2 separate regions of the Homo sapiens genome follow, and region 1 is linked to region 2. The links are contacts of gene promoters, found by promoter capture Hi-C in blood cells and fetal thymus (Javierre and others, 2016). All regions are on one chromosome and are shown on one strand. The core of a region is centred on a gene start or on the middle of the fragment in contact, and the rest is flanking DNA. Distances in the headings are between cores, read along the strand shown.

The links. The method cuts DNA at HindIII sites, captures the fragments that hold promoters and counts their contacts. A CHiCAGO score of 5 or more calls a contact.
Region 1: a contact is called between a fragment that was not itself captured here and the fragment with the promoter of ACSS1 in region 2, in 1 of 17 cell types (total B cells). The highest score is 5.3, in total B cells.

The regions. Positions count from the first base shown.
Region 1 is chr20:25,373,110-25,379,929 of GRCh38, reverse strand. The region is part of intron 1 of ABHD12 (abhydrolase domain containing 12, lysophospholipase); the gene reads left to right. Among named protein-coding and RNA genes, the nearest start is that of ABHD12, 14 kb to the left of the region's middle. The HindIII fragment of the contact is 4,842 bases long and covers 1,285-6,126 here.
Region 2 is chr20:25,055,866-25,063,067 of GRCh38, reverse strand. It overlaps ACSS1 (acyl-CoA synthetase short chain family member 1), which reads left to right and starts at 4,929. Exons shown (of 14, transcript NM_032501.4): 1 at 4,929-5,299. The coding sequence starts at 4,966. It overlaps LOC124904882 (a long non-coding RNA gene), which reads left to right. Exons shown (of 2, transcript XR_007067555.1): 2 at 1-106. RefSeq lists enhancers at 4,448-5,053, 5,704-5,833 and silencers at 4,674-5,203, 5,334-5,603. The HindIII fragment of the contact is 7,356 bases long and covers 1-7,202 here.

The DNA of each region.
Region 1 (6,820 bases), core at 2,456-4,955, 320 kb before region 2:
TCACTTGAGCCCAGGAATCTGAGACCAGCCTGGGCAATGAAGGGAGACCTCATCTAGACCAAAAAAAAAAAGAATTAGCCAGGCATGGCGTGCATGATTGCTTGAGCCCGGGAGGTCAAGACTGTGTGAGCCATGATCAAGCCACTGCACTCTGGTCTGGGCAACAGAGTGACACCCTGTCTCAAAAAAATATATAAATAAATAAAAGCATCACTATGCTATAGGATAACTTCAAGCAGCCTATTATATTGATAATTATGATATCATAATTGTGCAATATTAGAGCAGTCTGGAGTGTGCATGGGAATAATCCAGGGGAGAGGAGAAGATGGACGGCATGGGACAGAGTAGGTGCAGTGATGTCTCTGGGCCTGTGAGAAGGGATGGGACCCAGTGTTCTGAGGCTGAGCAGAGGAGTTCCCCTCAGATAGGAAGGAAGGCCAAGGCTGTGGGGAAAGACATGGGTAAGTTGATCTATTTGTGGGTGAAGGAATCTGCCAGTTCTCTTCTGAGTGCTTGTGCTGTCCTTAGGAAATAAGCAGCAAGGCCATCTGCTAGGAGGGCAGAGGGAAAAGGAGGTACTGGGCCTCTCTCTCTCAGTTCCCCACGTGGGCGCAGTCTGAGCTCTCATATCGTCTTTCTGACATTTAATGTTTTTAAAAAGGATGACAAGGACAGTTCCCTTGGGAAGTCATTTCAGTCACGACCTGCTGTGTATCTGTGGAGTTGACATGTTCTGCATAGTTGAGTGCTCCCCTGCTCTGGGAAGCCTGCACGGGGTCCCTGCACACATCCCAGCATGGAGGGTCTCAGGGCTGGGTTTGAGACGAAGGTGGGCGAAAGGTTCACATGAACTGAGGTCATGACAGAGTGATCAGGTGGGACCAGGCAGAACTCTCGGCCCCCAGGGCTTGCTGGTACACAGATTGCTAAGTGTCTTCATTGTTAAATAGAATTAATCTTCATATGGTAGTTGTGGGCTGAGTTGCCTCATTCACTTGTGATAAGTTTAGCGGATAAGAAAATGTCCTGACATAATGAGAGCAGAGGGCAGATGGGTGTTGGTGTGGGAAAGGCTGAGAAAGCCAGGACTTTTGGGTTTGTAAAGGTGAACGTGGACACGGCTGTCAGTGAGGGAATACACGCATACCTCAGGGGTGCTGAAACTTAGGGTTTGTTCTTGAAGCCTGAAGTTGTCCTGAGCTTCATGGTAAAAAAAAAAAAAAAAAAAAGTTCAAATTATCTTCAGTTCTTATCAGGCTGGTGGAGTCTTCAAACAAAGCTTGGGGTATATTGACTGAACTGTTCGTAATGGGAAGGTAAGAATGTTCAGGGTCAATGCCGGTCATTTTGATGTGGTAGTTCAGATCACTAGAATAGATATGGCTTTTAACTTTCAACTATTTTTTTCTCCTCATAATGTGTACATCATATATGCCCTACCCCTTCATCCTTGACCTTTGCCACTCCTGGTCCTGGATAACCACATTGCTCCTACCTGAAAGTGGCCCTGTCAATGCCAAGTGCCCATAGGTCATTTTATTCAGTAGCTACTGTATTCCTGCTGTTTGCCAGATGTTGTGCCAGGCCCTGGGGATACAAGGAGATAGTACCTGTCCTCAGGGAGCTAGTTGTCTGTCATGTTTTATGCTTGGCAACCATCAGCTCTTGCATACTCAGGCTTTGATGATGCCTTTGGCAAAGAGAAAATACAGGGATGGCTGGAGAAGGTTAGTCTACCTTCATTCACATTTATCCTTTCTTAAAGACTCCTGTGTTGCTCTGACATTTTTATGTACTGATTTATCTTCAGGGTATCTGCTATGGCTTGATGGTTTAATGGTTTAAATGTGTCCCCGAAAATTTCATGTGTTGGAAAGTATTGGAATCTTGGTCCTCAATGTAGTACTAACTACATATAAGAAGTGGGACCTGGCCGGACGCGGTGGCCCACGCCTGTCATCCCAGCACTTTGGGAGGCTGAGGTGGGCGGAACACGAGATCAAGAGATCAAGACCATCCTGGCCAACATGGTGAAACCCCGTCTATCCTAAAAATACAAAAATTAGCTGGGTGTGGTGGCACACGCCTGTAATCCCAGCTACTTGGGAGGCTGAGGCAGGAGAATCGCTTGAACCTGGAAGGCAGAAGTTGCAGTGAGCCGAGATCACGCCACTGTACTCCAGCCTGGGTGACAGAGCAAGATTCCATCTCAAAACAAACAAACAAAAAAACTAGAGGTGGGACCTTTGGGAGGTGATTGGGTCATGAGGGCTTTGCTCTCATGAGTGGATGAATCCATTCATAGATTAATGGTTTATTGAGGGTTTGGGTTAGTTATCATGAGAGTTATCACTGTTGTAAAAGGCAGTGTGGCCATCTCCTCTGATCCCCATTACCATGTGATGCCCTGAGCCACCTTGGGACTCTTCGGAGTCCCCACCAGCAAGAAGGTCCTCACCAGATATGGCCCCTTGACCTTGGACTTCCCAGCCTCCAGAATGCTAAGAAATAAATTTCCTTCTTTATAAATTACTGACCTCAGTTATTTAATTATAGAAACAAAAAACTGACTAAGAATAGGTCTCTTAGCCTCTTGCTTGACAGGATGTAATGCAAAATGCATTGCTGGCCAATAGAGCCATCTAAAGACATGAGAAAAATTCTCAGTTTGGGGACACAGGACACCTTGACAAGGCACATCATGGCATAACCTACAAGAAGGCAAGCAAAAAAGACTGCCATTCTAGGACATTCAATATCTGGCTTAGGGTTCCAGGAGGAAGGGACTGTTAGGCCAGTACAGGCCAGCTGGGAGGCTGCCAGTGCAGCCCCAGAGCCTCAGGAAAAAGCTGAAGGAGATTCTGCCAGGGCCCAGGGAAGCATCTCCAGGTATGAGGTCGCCTGGGAGATGTCATAGCTGTGGTGAAGGGCGGCCTCTGAGGGGCCCTCTCTCTCTCACTCTGTTCCTCTCTCAAACAGTTTGATTTTTTTTTCTGATTCCAAAGTAATAAAGAGTTCTTAATAAAAATTTAAAACAGAGAAAGTGAAACTCCCTCTGGATAATTGCTGTGAACAGTGTGGCCTGTGTTGAGAGTATTGCTCCTGTGTTCTTCCATCCATTTAGCAAGTATGTCTTTTTCGTTGACCTAGCCTTCACTGAAGGCTAGAGTGGATAAAATGCTGCACAAGAGTGGGACAAATCCCAGTCCTTGTGGGACTTCTGTTCTCATGAAGGAGAAACACGGCAACAAAGATAGCACATAAGTATACAGTAAAATTTCAAAGGGTGATAAAGTGCTATAAAGAAAAATAAAGCAAGGTAAGGTTATGTGGCTGTGTGTAAAGCACCTGAAAACATGCCGTACCACAGTGGTGAAATATTTTTGTTTCTGCCAGGAAAATAAGGCCTTCTCACAGTAGGATACCCAGTTGTTCAGTTCTGCCGACTGAATCCTCATGATTTTTTGTTTTCTTCTTTGGGAACAAAGAGACATTTATGGACTGCTCTTGTGTGTTTTATTAAGGCCTTAAAGTTTTCAATTCAGTAGAGTGAAATTGCTCTCAACACTGACTGCTTTTGAATATGATTATGGAGATTGTTGTTAAGATTTCCGCCTAAAAGCTAAGAAGAATTTAATCTGTTAGTCTTGGGGAATGAGATTTGGCGTTACTCTCTTGTTCCTTCTAAGAGAATACCATGGAATTAAATGATAAAACACTTTTCCTCAACAATTTTGATGGTTACATTAATGAAGGAGTTGATGAAAACTAATTGTAGACATTATTATTATTATTATTATTTTTTGAGACAGAGTCTCACTCTGTCGCCCAGGCTGGAGTGCAGTGGTGCGATCTGGGCTCACTACAATCTCCGCCTCCCAGCTCATGCCATTCTCCTGCCTCAGCCTCCCAAGTGGCTGGGACTACAGGCGCCCACCACCACGCCCAGCTAATATTTTTGTATTTTTAGTAGAGACGGGGTTTCACCGTGTTAGCCAGGATGGTCTCGATCTCCTGACCTCGTGATCCACCTGCCTTGGCCTCCCAAAGTGCTGGGATTACAGGTGTGAGCCACTGCACCCAGCTAATTATAGACATATTTTAAAAGAAACATAGAACTTCCACTACTGACCAAGGTGGCTGAATTTACCCGGAAATAACCCAAATAGCAGCCACAACAAAAACGACAACATACACGAAACAATTTTTAAAACACTGGGCACCAAGCAACAAAGGACAGTAAACTCGGAGAAGTGACAGACAAAGGAAGTGAGCCCTACAGTACCCTAGCTGATCTCCTTGAGAGAGCTTCCACGCCATGGCACAGGGAGGGGAGCCACGTGGACTCCCAGGGTTGTGGGTGTGGAGCTGAGAATCTGGAGAGACCAATGTGGCTAGAGTTTATAGGACAGAGTACCAGAGAGGAGAGAGCAACACAGAGAGAGACCCTGGGGTCTGCAGAGGGTCCCCTTGATCAGCACACGTGTGTGAGGAAACTCTCTGTGGCTGGGGAAAGAACTGTCTGAAAAGATCAGAAGATACAGTCCCTGCTACTTAGAGCAAGATTATAATTTACTGGTAGAACATTCAGGAACAGCATGCTTCAGTAGTGGGAAATTCCAGGTGTATGGGTTTGTGAGGGCTACCATAACAAAGTAACACAGACCAGGTGACTTAAATGGCAGAAGTTTATTTTCTCTCGATTCCAGAGGCCAGAAGTCCAAGATGGAGGTGTCAGCAGGGCTGGTTTCTCATGAGGCCCCTCTGCTTTGCCTGTAGATGACCACCTTCTCCATGTGTCTTCATATGGTCTAACCTCTGTGTGTGGCTCTTTCTGCATTTCTTCTTACAAAGCTGAGTCATAGTGGATTAGGGTCCACCCTGATGACCTCATTTTAGCATAATTACCTCCTTAAGACCCTCTCTCTAAATACAGTCATATTCTGAAGTGCTAGGGGTTAAGACTTCAACATACAAATTTTGAGGGGACATTATTCAGCCCATAGCACAGGCATGCAGAGTGGGAGGAAACTATGATGTGTATATAATGAAGAGAATAATCAATGAAAACCGACTGAGTACTGACACGCACGTTAGTGTTGAAGAGAAGCACATTAAAACACTGTAGGCTGGGCGTGGTGGCTCACACCTGTAATCCCAGCACTTTGGGAGGCCGAGGCGGGAGGATCACCTGAGGTAAGGAGTTTGAGACCAGCCTGACCAACATGGAGAAACCCTGTGTCCTGTCTCTACTAAAATTACAAAATTAGCCGGGTGTGGTGGCACATGCCTGTAATCCCAGCTACTCGGGAGGCTGAGGCAGGAGAATCACTTGAACCTGGGAGGCGGAGGTTGCAGTGAGCTGAGATCGTGCCACTGCACTCCAGCCTGGGCAACAAGAGCGAAATTCCATCTCAAAAACAAACAAACAAACTTACTGTAATTGTATTCCATATGTTCTAGAAGTTAAGTGGAGAGTCATGGAAAATCTGAAAATTACCCAAATTGAATTTCTGAAGATGAAAACCATAATGTGTGAGGTAAAGTTTACACTGAAGGGAATTACATTGAAGGGCAGATTAAACACTGCTAAAGAAAGAGCTCAACTATTCAACATGAAACCTGGGGAAAAGAGAACCAAACAGATTTTCAAAAGCATCATTACTAGGCCAGGTGTGGTGGCACACACCTGTACTCCGACCATGTGTGTAATCCCAGCACACCTGTAATCCTAGCACTTTGGGAGGATAAAGAAGGAGGATCACTTGAGCCCAGGAATCTGAGACCAGCCTGGGCAACAAAGGGAGACCTCATCAAAAAAGAAAAAAATTGAACAATTAGCCAGGCGTGGTGTGCATGCCTTTGATTACAACTAATTGGGAGGCTAAGGTGGGAGGATTGCTTGAGCCTGGGAGGTCAAGACTGCATGAGCCATGATCAAGCCACTACACTCTGGTCTGGGCAACAGAGTGAGACCCTGTCAATAAATAAATAAATAAATGCATCACTATGCTATGGGACAACTTCAGGTAGCCTATTATACTGATAATTAAAGTCCTCAAAGAAGAGGAGAAAGGAGAGAAAAAATATTTGAAGAAATAGTGGCCAGAAACTTTACAAGCTTGGTGAAAACTGTAAACCCACTGCTAAGAAGCTTAATTAATCTCCTGCATAAGAAACATGAAGCAGTATACCAAGGCACTTCGTAATCAAATTGCTCAAAATCAGTGATAAAGAAAAAAAAAACCTTCAAACCAACCAGAGGAAAAAAGACATACTGTGCACACAGGAACAAAGATATGGGCAAAGAAGTTTTCTTAAAAGAAAAGTAAGTAAGAATTCAGTGAAGCAACGTCTTTATTTTTTTAATTTTTTTTTTTGAGACGGTGTCTCAGTCTGTATCCCAGGCTGGAGCACAGTGGCACAATCTCTGCTCACTGCAACCTTCATCTTCCGGATTCAAGCAATTCTCCTGCCTCAGCCCCCCAAGTAGCCAGGATTACAGGTGCCCGCCACCACACCCGGCTGATTTTTGTATTTTTAGTAGATACAGAGTTTTACCATGTTGGCCAGGCCGGTCTTGAACTCCTGACCTCAGGTGATCCACCCGCCCCGGCTTCCCAAAATGCTGGGATTACAGGTTTGAGTCACTGCGCCTGGCCTTGAAGCAACATCTTTGACGCTGTCATGCCATGTAGTAATGTCACTCAATATAGTAATGTCACTCAATAACAGGTACACCTTCTGAGCAATGTGGTGTTAGGCAAGTGCATTGTCACGCGAAGATCAGAGTGTATTTACACAAACATAGATGGTA
Region 2 (7,202 bases), core at 3,680-6,179:
ACATTCCCCAGCTCCCCACCGCTCTGGAAGAAGCTGTCTTTAGAGCAAGTGCTCTCTCCTTCTCCATGCCTGGCCGGGAATAAAACCTGCTTTTCCTTTTCCCCAATCTGGTGATCTTTCTTTGTAGCTGATGCAGAGTAGAGAAAGAACTCAGTGAACTGGTGACGAAGCCAATTCCAGACTCCCAGCATCTGGGTCCTGTACTTGATCTGAGCTCTGCCATGCTCTTCTAAATTCTGTGTTTTGGTTTTACTGTGCATTTCAGCTATTTGAACAGTGTCTGTCTCTCCCCAATTTGAACTGTGACCTGCTTGCTTGCAGGGACCAAAACTGGACCGTCCTTGTCCAACTGAGAGCCCTCAGCTCTTGGTGGTGCACATGGGAGAAGCTCACAGGTTTCTTCTGAGTGTCATTGGAAAGAGGTGTGTGTGTGTGGGGTCACAGAGACAAATGAAGAGAACAGGAAGAGGGAGAGATGGAGGAGAGAAGAGGAAGGGAGGGTTTTACCAGCTCTTTGGAGACCACTGAGTGCACAGGGAGTGGTTGGGGATCCGTTATCAGCCAGGACTGTTTCTTGAGCATCTGAGCACTGCGACTCTGGAGTAATGGGCATGGCAGGAGCTATGAAGGCAAATGGCGAAGGCCGTGTTGGTGGGCTCTGTCCCTAAAGCTGTTAAATTAAGATGCTCTGGACGCTATGGCTCTGCTACCTACTAGCTGGTGGCCTCGGGTGAGCTTCTGTCCTCCTGCTTATTTTCACACATGTACAGCAAGGGCAAGAGCATTCACTGCTGCAGGTTGTAGGGTCAGTAGTCACAGCTGTGTTGGCATTTCTGGCCTAAACATTAGTACCGAGACAGAAGCGAATCCCGGATTCCCAAGAACCCTGCCCTCTAAGCACTTCGTGTGTCTGCAGCCCCTGCCTGACAGCATCCAGCGTTCCAAGTGAGCTCTCCTGAAGTTGAGGCCAGCGGCTTCTTAGGGAGAAGATGTGACCAGCACTGCCCAGATAGCCTGCTGCCCTGTCCAAACCTCTGAGGGTCCTTCGGGATGCAGGGCCAAGAGTGGGTGCTCCTTGTGCTTGTTCAATCTTGTGCTTGTTCTGCAAGAGTTGATGACTGGCTGCCAGGAGGGAGGCAGTGGGGACGACCTTGGCCTGGGCTGTGACACTCAGAAGGAAGGTCTCAAGGCCACCTCTAGGTAACTCGGGCAGCAAGAAGTGCAGTTCTGCACCACCTGGTTGGTTCTGACATGTTTGGTTCTGAAATGATCACTTCTTCTTATCCAACCAGAAGGAACGAGGTAGCATTTATTTTAAAACAGAGTTAGTTCTACCTACTTTTCTCATTGCAACTGTAGAAGACCTTAGAAACGAAGGTAGTAGGAAGAAGGAGCCATTGCCGTGCACTCTCCATGGGGTGGCTGTTGGTGCCAGGCCCAGTCACAAGCAGCATAGCTGGTCTCTTCTCTCACAGGGCTCCCTCCTGGTAGGAGGACTAGGAAGATAAACACAGAGCTAATAAGTAACAGCCATGGAGAAAAGTCAAGTCAGGGGTTGAGACTAGGGAATGAGGGCGGAGGTATAACTTTATGTAGGTGACAGGGAAGAAAGGGCTCTTGGATGAAGGGATGTTTGAAGACACCTGAAGGAGGTGAGGGGGAGTCTCTGTGGACAACTGGGTGGAGCATTCCAGGCAGAAGGGACATCGTGTGGCAGTCCTGAGGTGGGAGCCTGCTGGGTGATGGGAAGGACAGGAGGAGGCTGATGTGCTGGAGCCCCAATGAGTGAGAGCAGAGGAAGAGGGTACACTGGATCAGGGAGGGCAACGCTTCTCTAACGTGAATGTGCATGCAGCTCCCCTGGGGCTTAAGATGCAGATTCTGAGGCAGCAGGTCTGAGATGGAGCCTGGCATTCTGCATTTCTACAAAGTATCCAAGTGATGCTGCTGGCCCATGGACCACACGTTAAGTAGTGAGGCTATGGCCTGTGGGCCAGGGAATGATGTGGTCTTTGTTTTGAGGAGACTGGGGAGCCTTTGGATTGTTCCAAGCTCCAGAGCAAGTTCCTCTGACTCTTGTTTTAAAGGAATTGCACTGGCTGCTGGTTAGGCTGTCAGGGGCAAGGGTGAAAGCAATTTGAAGCCTACTGAATAATCCTAAAAGAGATAGGTATGGTTAGGATGGTAGCAGGAGGGGATGGTGATGGGGGAAGAGGTTAGTGCTGCAGGTGTTCTGAAGGTGAGTCACAGGATTTGCTGACAGGCTGCATGTGGAGTGTGAGGGGGAGGAATCTAGGATGACAAGGGTATGAGCCCAAACAACAGGAAAATGCCATTTCCATTCACTGACATGGAAGATCCGTGTTGTGGGGAAGAATCCCAGGACTTGGTATGTTTCAGATGTGAATGAGACATTTGAATACAGGACTGAGATGTGGAGGAAAGGTCCAGGCGGGAGGTGTCAATATGAAAGTGAGAGGCTAGAGAGCTGGCTGCTGTTTCCTAGGGGGCAGGGGAGAAAGGGGGATTTGAGGGCTGAGCTCCTGGGCACTTCAACACTTGGAAGGCAGAGAGAAGAAAGGCACCCAGTACAGGGCACTGAGAGGCAATAGTCAGTGAGTGAAAGAACCATGCATTTTTCAGCCTCAGTTGTTGTATCAGTTACCACTGCTGAGTTACAAACCATCCCAAAATTTAGTGGCTTAAATTTATTCCTTCTACAATTCTGTAAGTGGACTGGGAGGTTCCTTTGCATCCCAGGTGTTATCTGGGGTGACTCATGAGGCTGCCTTGGCTGGGACAGGAGCCTCCACATTGGCGTCATTCTTGTCTGGGAGTTGGTCCTGGCTGTGGATGGGACAGCTTCATCCTCGCCCTGGGTCCCTTCCTCTGGAAGGCCAGCCCCGCTTCCTCACAGCTCGCAGCTGGGTTCCATGGGAGGATAAGCTGGGGCTACGGGGTCTCTCAGGACCTCCACATGGAACTGTCACAGCATCCCTCCCACCAGGCTGTACTGGCCAAAGCAATCCAGCCAGCCAGGGTCCTCCTCTGGACAGAGCAGCACACCATCATGTGCAGGCGGTGCAGGCGTGGGAAGGAAGAGTTGGTGGCCGTCTTTGGGACCCCCTGCCACAGTTAGGAGCTTTCTCAGTTTACAATTTTACTACTCACTGACCTCTGCCTCTCAGTGCCCTGTACTGGGTGTCTTTAATATTCTATTCAAATGAACTTAGGCCAACGAGCTCCCCACTGGGGGCACTGGGTGTTAGTCTTGCTCTTCCCTTAGCCAGCTGCATGCTCTTTAGTAAGTCCTTTTATTTATTTGGGCTCAGTTTCCTCATTTTTTCCACCTGGAGTTTGACAGTTGGTGGGAATGGACAGCACTAGATAAGTTTCAAATTAAGTAGACTAGTCGGGTGCCGTGGCACACGCTTGTAGTTCCAGATACTCAGGAGGCCGAGTCAGGAGGATCGCTTGAGCTCAGGAGTTCCAGGCTGTAGTGAGCTGTGATGGGAACCATTGCACTCCAGCCTGGGCTACAGGCCCTATCTCTAAAAAAGTATCATAAATAAATAAAGGAGAAAATGCAGGTCAAGCGCTAGCACTGTGCAGGGCATGTGTTATGCTAGTAGATGTCACTGATTCTCCAGCTCTAGGTACACTCCTGTCTTCTCTGGCAGACAGCAGCATTCCCCAGCAGGGGCTGGTGGCTAGCCCACGCAGAGGCTCCTCCAATGGCAGGCTCCTCCCCTCTGCAAGCCCTACAGCTCAAGGGAAAGAAACTTTCCCATCACAGAGAACTCAATAAACCAGTTTTCCAAAATCTCTCTTCCCTGTGTTTACCCGTTTGTTATGAATTTACTTCTTGGGTGTCAGAATATTTAAGAACTCGGTGGAGACCAGTTTTATACGTTTCCTTCTGTCCTTCCTGGCTCCACAGCTGCAAAAACATCATCCCCACTACTGAGCTTACTATGGGGCCACGCAAGGGTAGACGCTTGACAGACATTGTCCAATGTATTCCTTACTGCAGCTGCCCACCCCCGCCGTCCCCGCCCCCCAGGGAGACATTACTTCCGTCTTCCCCAAAAGGAAAACGAGGCACCGAGAAGTTAAGGAACTTGCTCAAGGTCACAGAGTTTGAACTCAGGCTACAGATGCTGCAGCAACTGGAGAAAGTCCTCATCGCCCCATATCACCCACCACCGACCCCCAGCAGGACGTGACCCCCGCCAGGACGGAGGCCGGCAGCTGGGGGGCTGGAGCATGGGACCCAGAACACGGACTCAGGCTTGCGCAGCCTCCTGGCTTCTAGGCGGGAGCCTAGAAAGGCGCCAGCCCCTTTCGCGTGCTGCTGAGACTCCAGGGGTGGGGTTCACTCTCAGGGGCGCACAAAGGCATGAAAACCTTGGCTTCAGCCTCTGAGATGCGGAACTGACCGACCTATTGTCTTGGGACCCACCAGTGCGCTTGGGTGCACCAGCCCCCTTAACGTTGGTGCCGGCTCCCTCCCGGCTCCTCCCCATCCCAGAGGGTCCCCTCGCCCCAGGCCCTGAGCCTGCGTCCTGGGGTCCTGGGCCGCACGTGCCTCTGGCAGCTCGAAGAAGCTGTCGGGGCTTGCAGGAGAGCGTGCAAACTGAAACCAAAACAGGCCGACTCGAGGAACATCCGGGTGGGACCGCAGACTCACCGGAGCGCAGCGCCTGGGCCAGGGCCTGGGACCCTGCTCCGCCCCGCGCTCCCCTGCACCCCTTCCCCACGCTGCTCCCCTCTTCCTAAGCGGCCCCCCCTCTCCCGGGCAGCAGAAGAAGGGGTGGGACCCGGGCGGGCTCCGGGAGGGGGCCCTGGAGGAATGGATGGTGGCGGAAGGGCGGAGCAGGGGCGGGGCCCGCGGAGACTCCACGGGGCGCCCCGGGCGTGAGGCACCCACTCTGGGAGCACAGAGAGCTCAGGTAGCCTGCCTAGATGGCGGCGCGCACCCTGGGCCGCGGCGTCGGGAGGCTGCTGGGCAGCCTGCGAGGGCTCTCGGGGCAGCCCGCGCGGCCGCCGTGCGGGGTGAGCGCGCCGCGCAGGGCGGCCTCGGGACCCTCGGGCAGCGCTCCCGCAGTTGCAGCAGCAGCAGCACAGCCAGGCTCGTATCCCGCGCTGAGTGCACAGGCAGCCCGGGAGCCGGCCGCCTTCTGGGGGCCTCTGGCGCGGGACACTCTCGTGTGGGACACCCCCTACCACACCGTCTGGGACTGCGACTTCAGCACTGGCAAGATCGGCTGGTTCCTGGGAGGCCAGTTAAATGTCTCTGGTGAGTGGGCTTCGGGAGACCCAGGACGCCCCCAACTCTTGGGTCCCGAGGGGACTCGGAGCCTCTCGCCAGCGGCAGCCGTCCCCGGGCAGCGCGGATCGCAGCCCTGCAGGGGCCCCTCCTCCGGTATTCCGTCCGCCCCGCCCGCTCTAAGCAGTGGCTCCACGTCACCCCGTCCCTCATCCCATCGGGCCCCAGATCCACGTGCCCAGCTCGGGCCGGCGCCCGCGGGGACCCGGCGGCCGCTTGGGACGCCCCGCTGCTGGCCTTGCTCGGCGCGGCTCCTCGCTCGGCGGACTCCAGAGTTGCGTTACCGGGTGCATAGCGCCGCTGAGCAAGAGCCGGCGGGGAGCCGCGGGCTACACCCGAGCGCCCCGGAGTCGGGACTTTCCCGTTCCCATACCGGGGTGGAGGGAAAAACAAAGCGGTGGCGGTTGTCACTGCGGGCTGCGGTGCCCGGGGATCAGCCTGGGGACAAGCCCTGCCCACGTAAACAAACAGAGCTGTGGCGGGCGACCTGGGGAGGAGGAAACTCGGCGTGGCAGCTGGAACCAGTTATTTCTTCGCTGCGGGCCTGGGGCCTGGGGCCTGTGGACGGGAAGGAAGTAACGGCGGCCTCCCCGTTCTCGTTCTCGGCCTCAGAGAACTGCACCCCAGCGACCTGGGGCCTGCTTTGGACCCGCGGGGTCTGACGTCGGCCCCAAACAGTTGACTGGTGGTCAGTTGTTTGGAACTTGCTGAGCAGAGGCCCTGCTGCTCTGCTAAGATTTGGGGCTGGGGGTCGTACACAGCACCCTCGCCCCCACCTAAGGCGCTGACTGGGCACCGAGGGGGAGGCCCTGAACTGCAGGCAGGGCTGGCCACGCAGGGTGGGTGCCAAGTGCGAGGTGGGCTCCGGATGCAGGGTGGGCCTGGGTGTGGGGCCTGCGGGGAGGGGCTGGCAGACACGGTGTTGATCAGAGGGATGCAGACCAGAAGGGTGGTCATAACCAGCTTGCTGGATTTGGGAGTGTTTAAGAAAGGACCTGCGGGTCTTTATGGCAGGGTCACCAGGGCCCCATTTTCTCCAACTCCTCCCTCAGTTGTCCTTGTTGTTCTGCCCCCCCAGCCCTCAGTCTCCTCATTGTGAGGATGGGGGCAGTCATGCTCAGAGGTTAGGCTGAGTGCTGCAAGGTGTGCAGCAGACCCAGCGCTTACTGGTGACCCATAAGCAGTAGCGATTTTAGATAACTTCAGAAATAGTCATACAATTATAGATAGTGTCTTGCAGTTATTTTTCAAAGAAATTGGAAGGAACTTTGGACCTCCCCCACTCCCCGAAATTGTATATTACTTTGCTGGTTTAATTAAAATGAGTCACTTACTAGATAAGTGTTTTCTTTAACATTGAGTCAGCAGCAAGTGCCCTTGAACTAGTGGGAAAAAAACCAAACCCTTTGGTTTGCAGAGTTGGGGCAATGTGCCCTTGAAGGAGACTAGAGCAGCTTGCCCAAGGACAGAGGTGGAAAGTGACCTGCTCTGGACTTGTGAGGCCAAGGTCATGGGGAACATTCACAGTTGGCCTGTGCACACTTGCAGCCCCACTCAGATAAGACAGTGGGGCGGACCTCCTGGGGCCAACAGCAAGGACCTTCTGAACCTCGCTCGGTCAGGATCAGGGTGTGGTCAGCAAGCATTCTTCTGTCTCCTTTTCCTTCACTTATTTCTTCTGATAATATGGCCTTTATGGCTACGTTAGCCAGAAATTGAGCTTCAGAAAACTAACTTGAAAAACAGCTTTTCAGCAGCTTTCTCCCCTGGGATGTGCGTGCCCTCCTGTTCATGGGTCAGCAATATCTCTTTCCTTTGCCGGTGTCTGCAAACCATAGAGAAGACAGTATGAAAAAGGGCCAGGCCAGGCCAT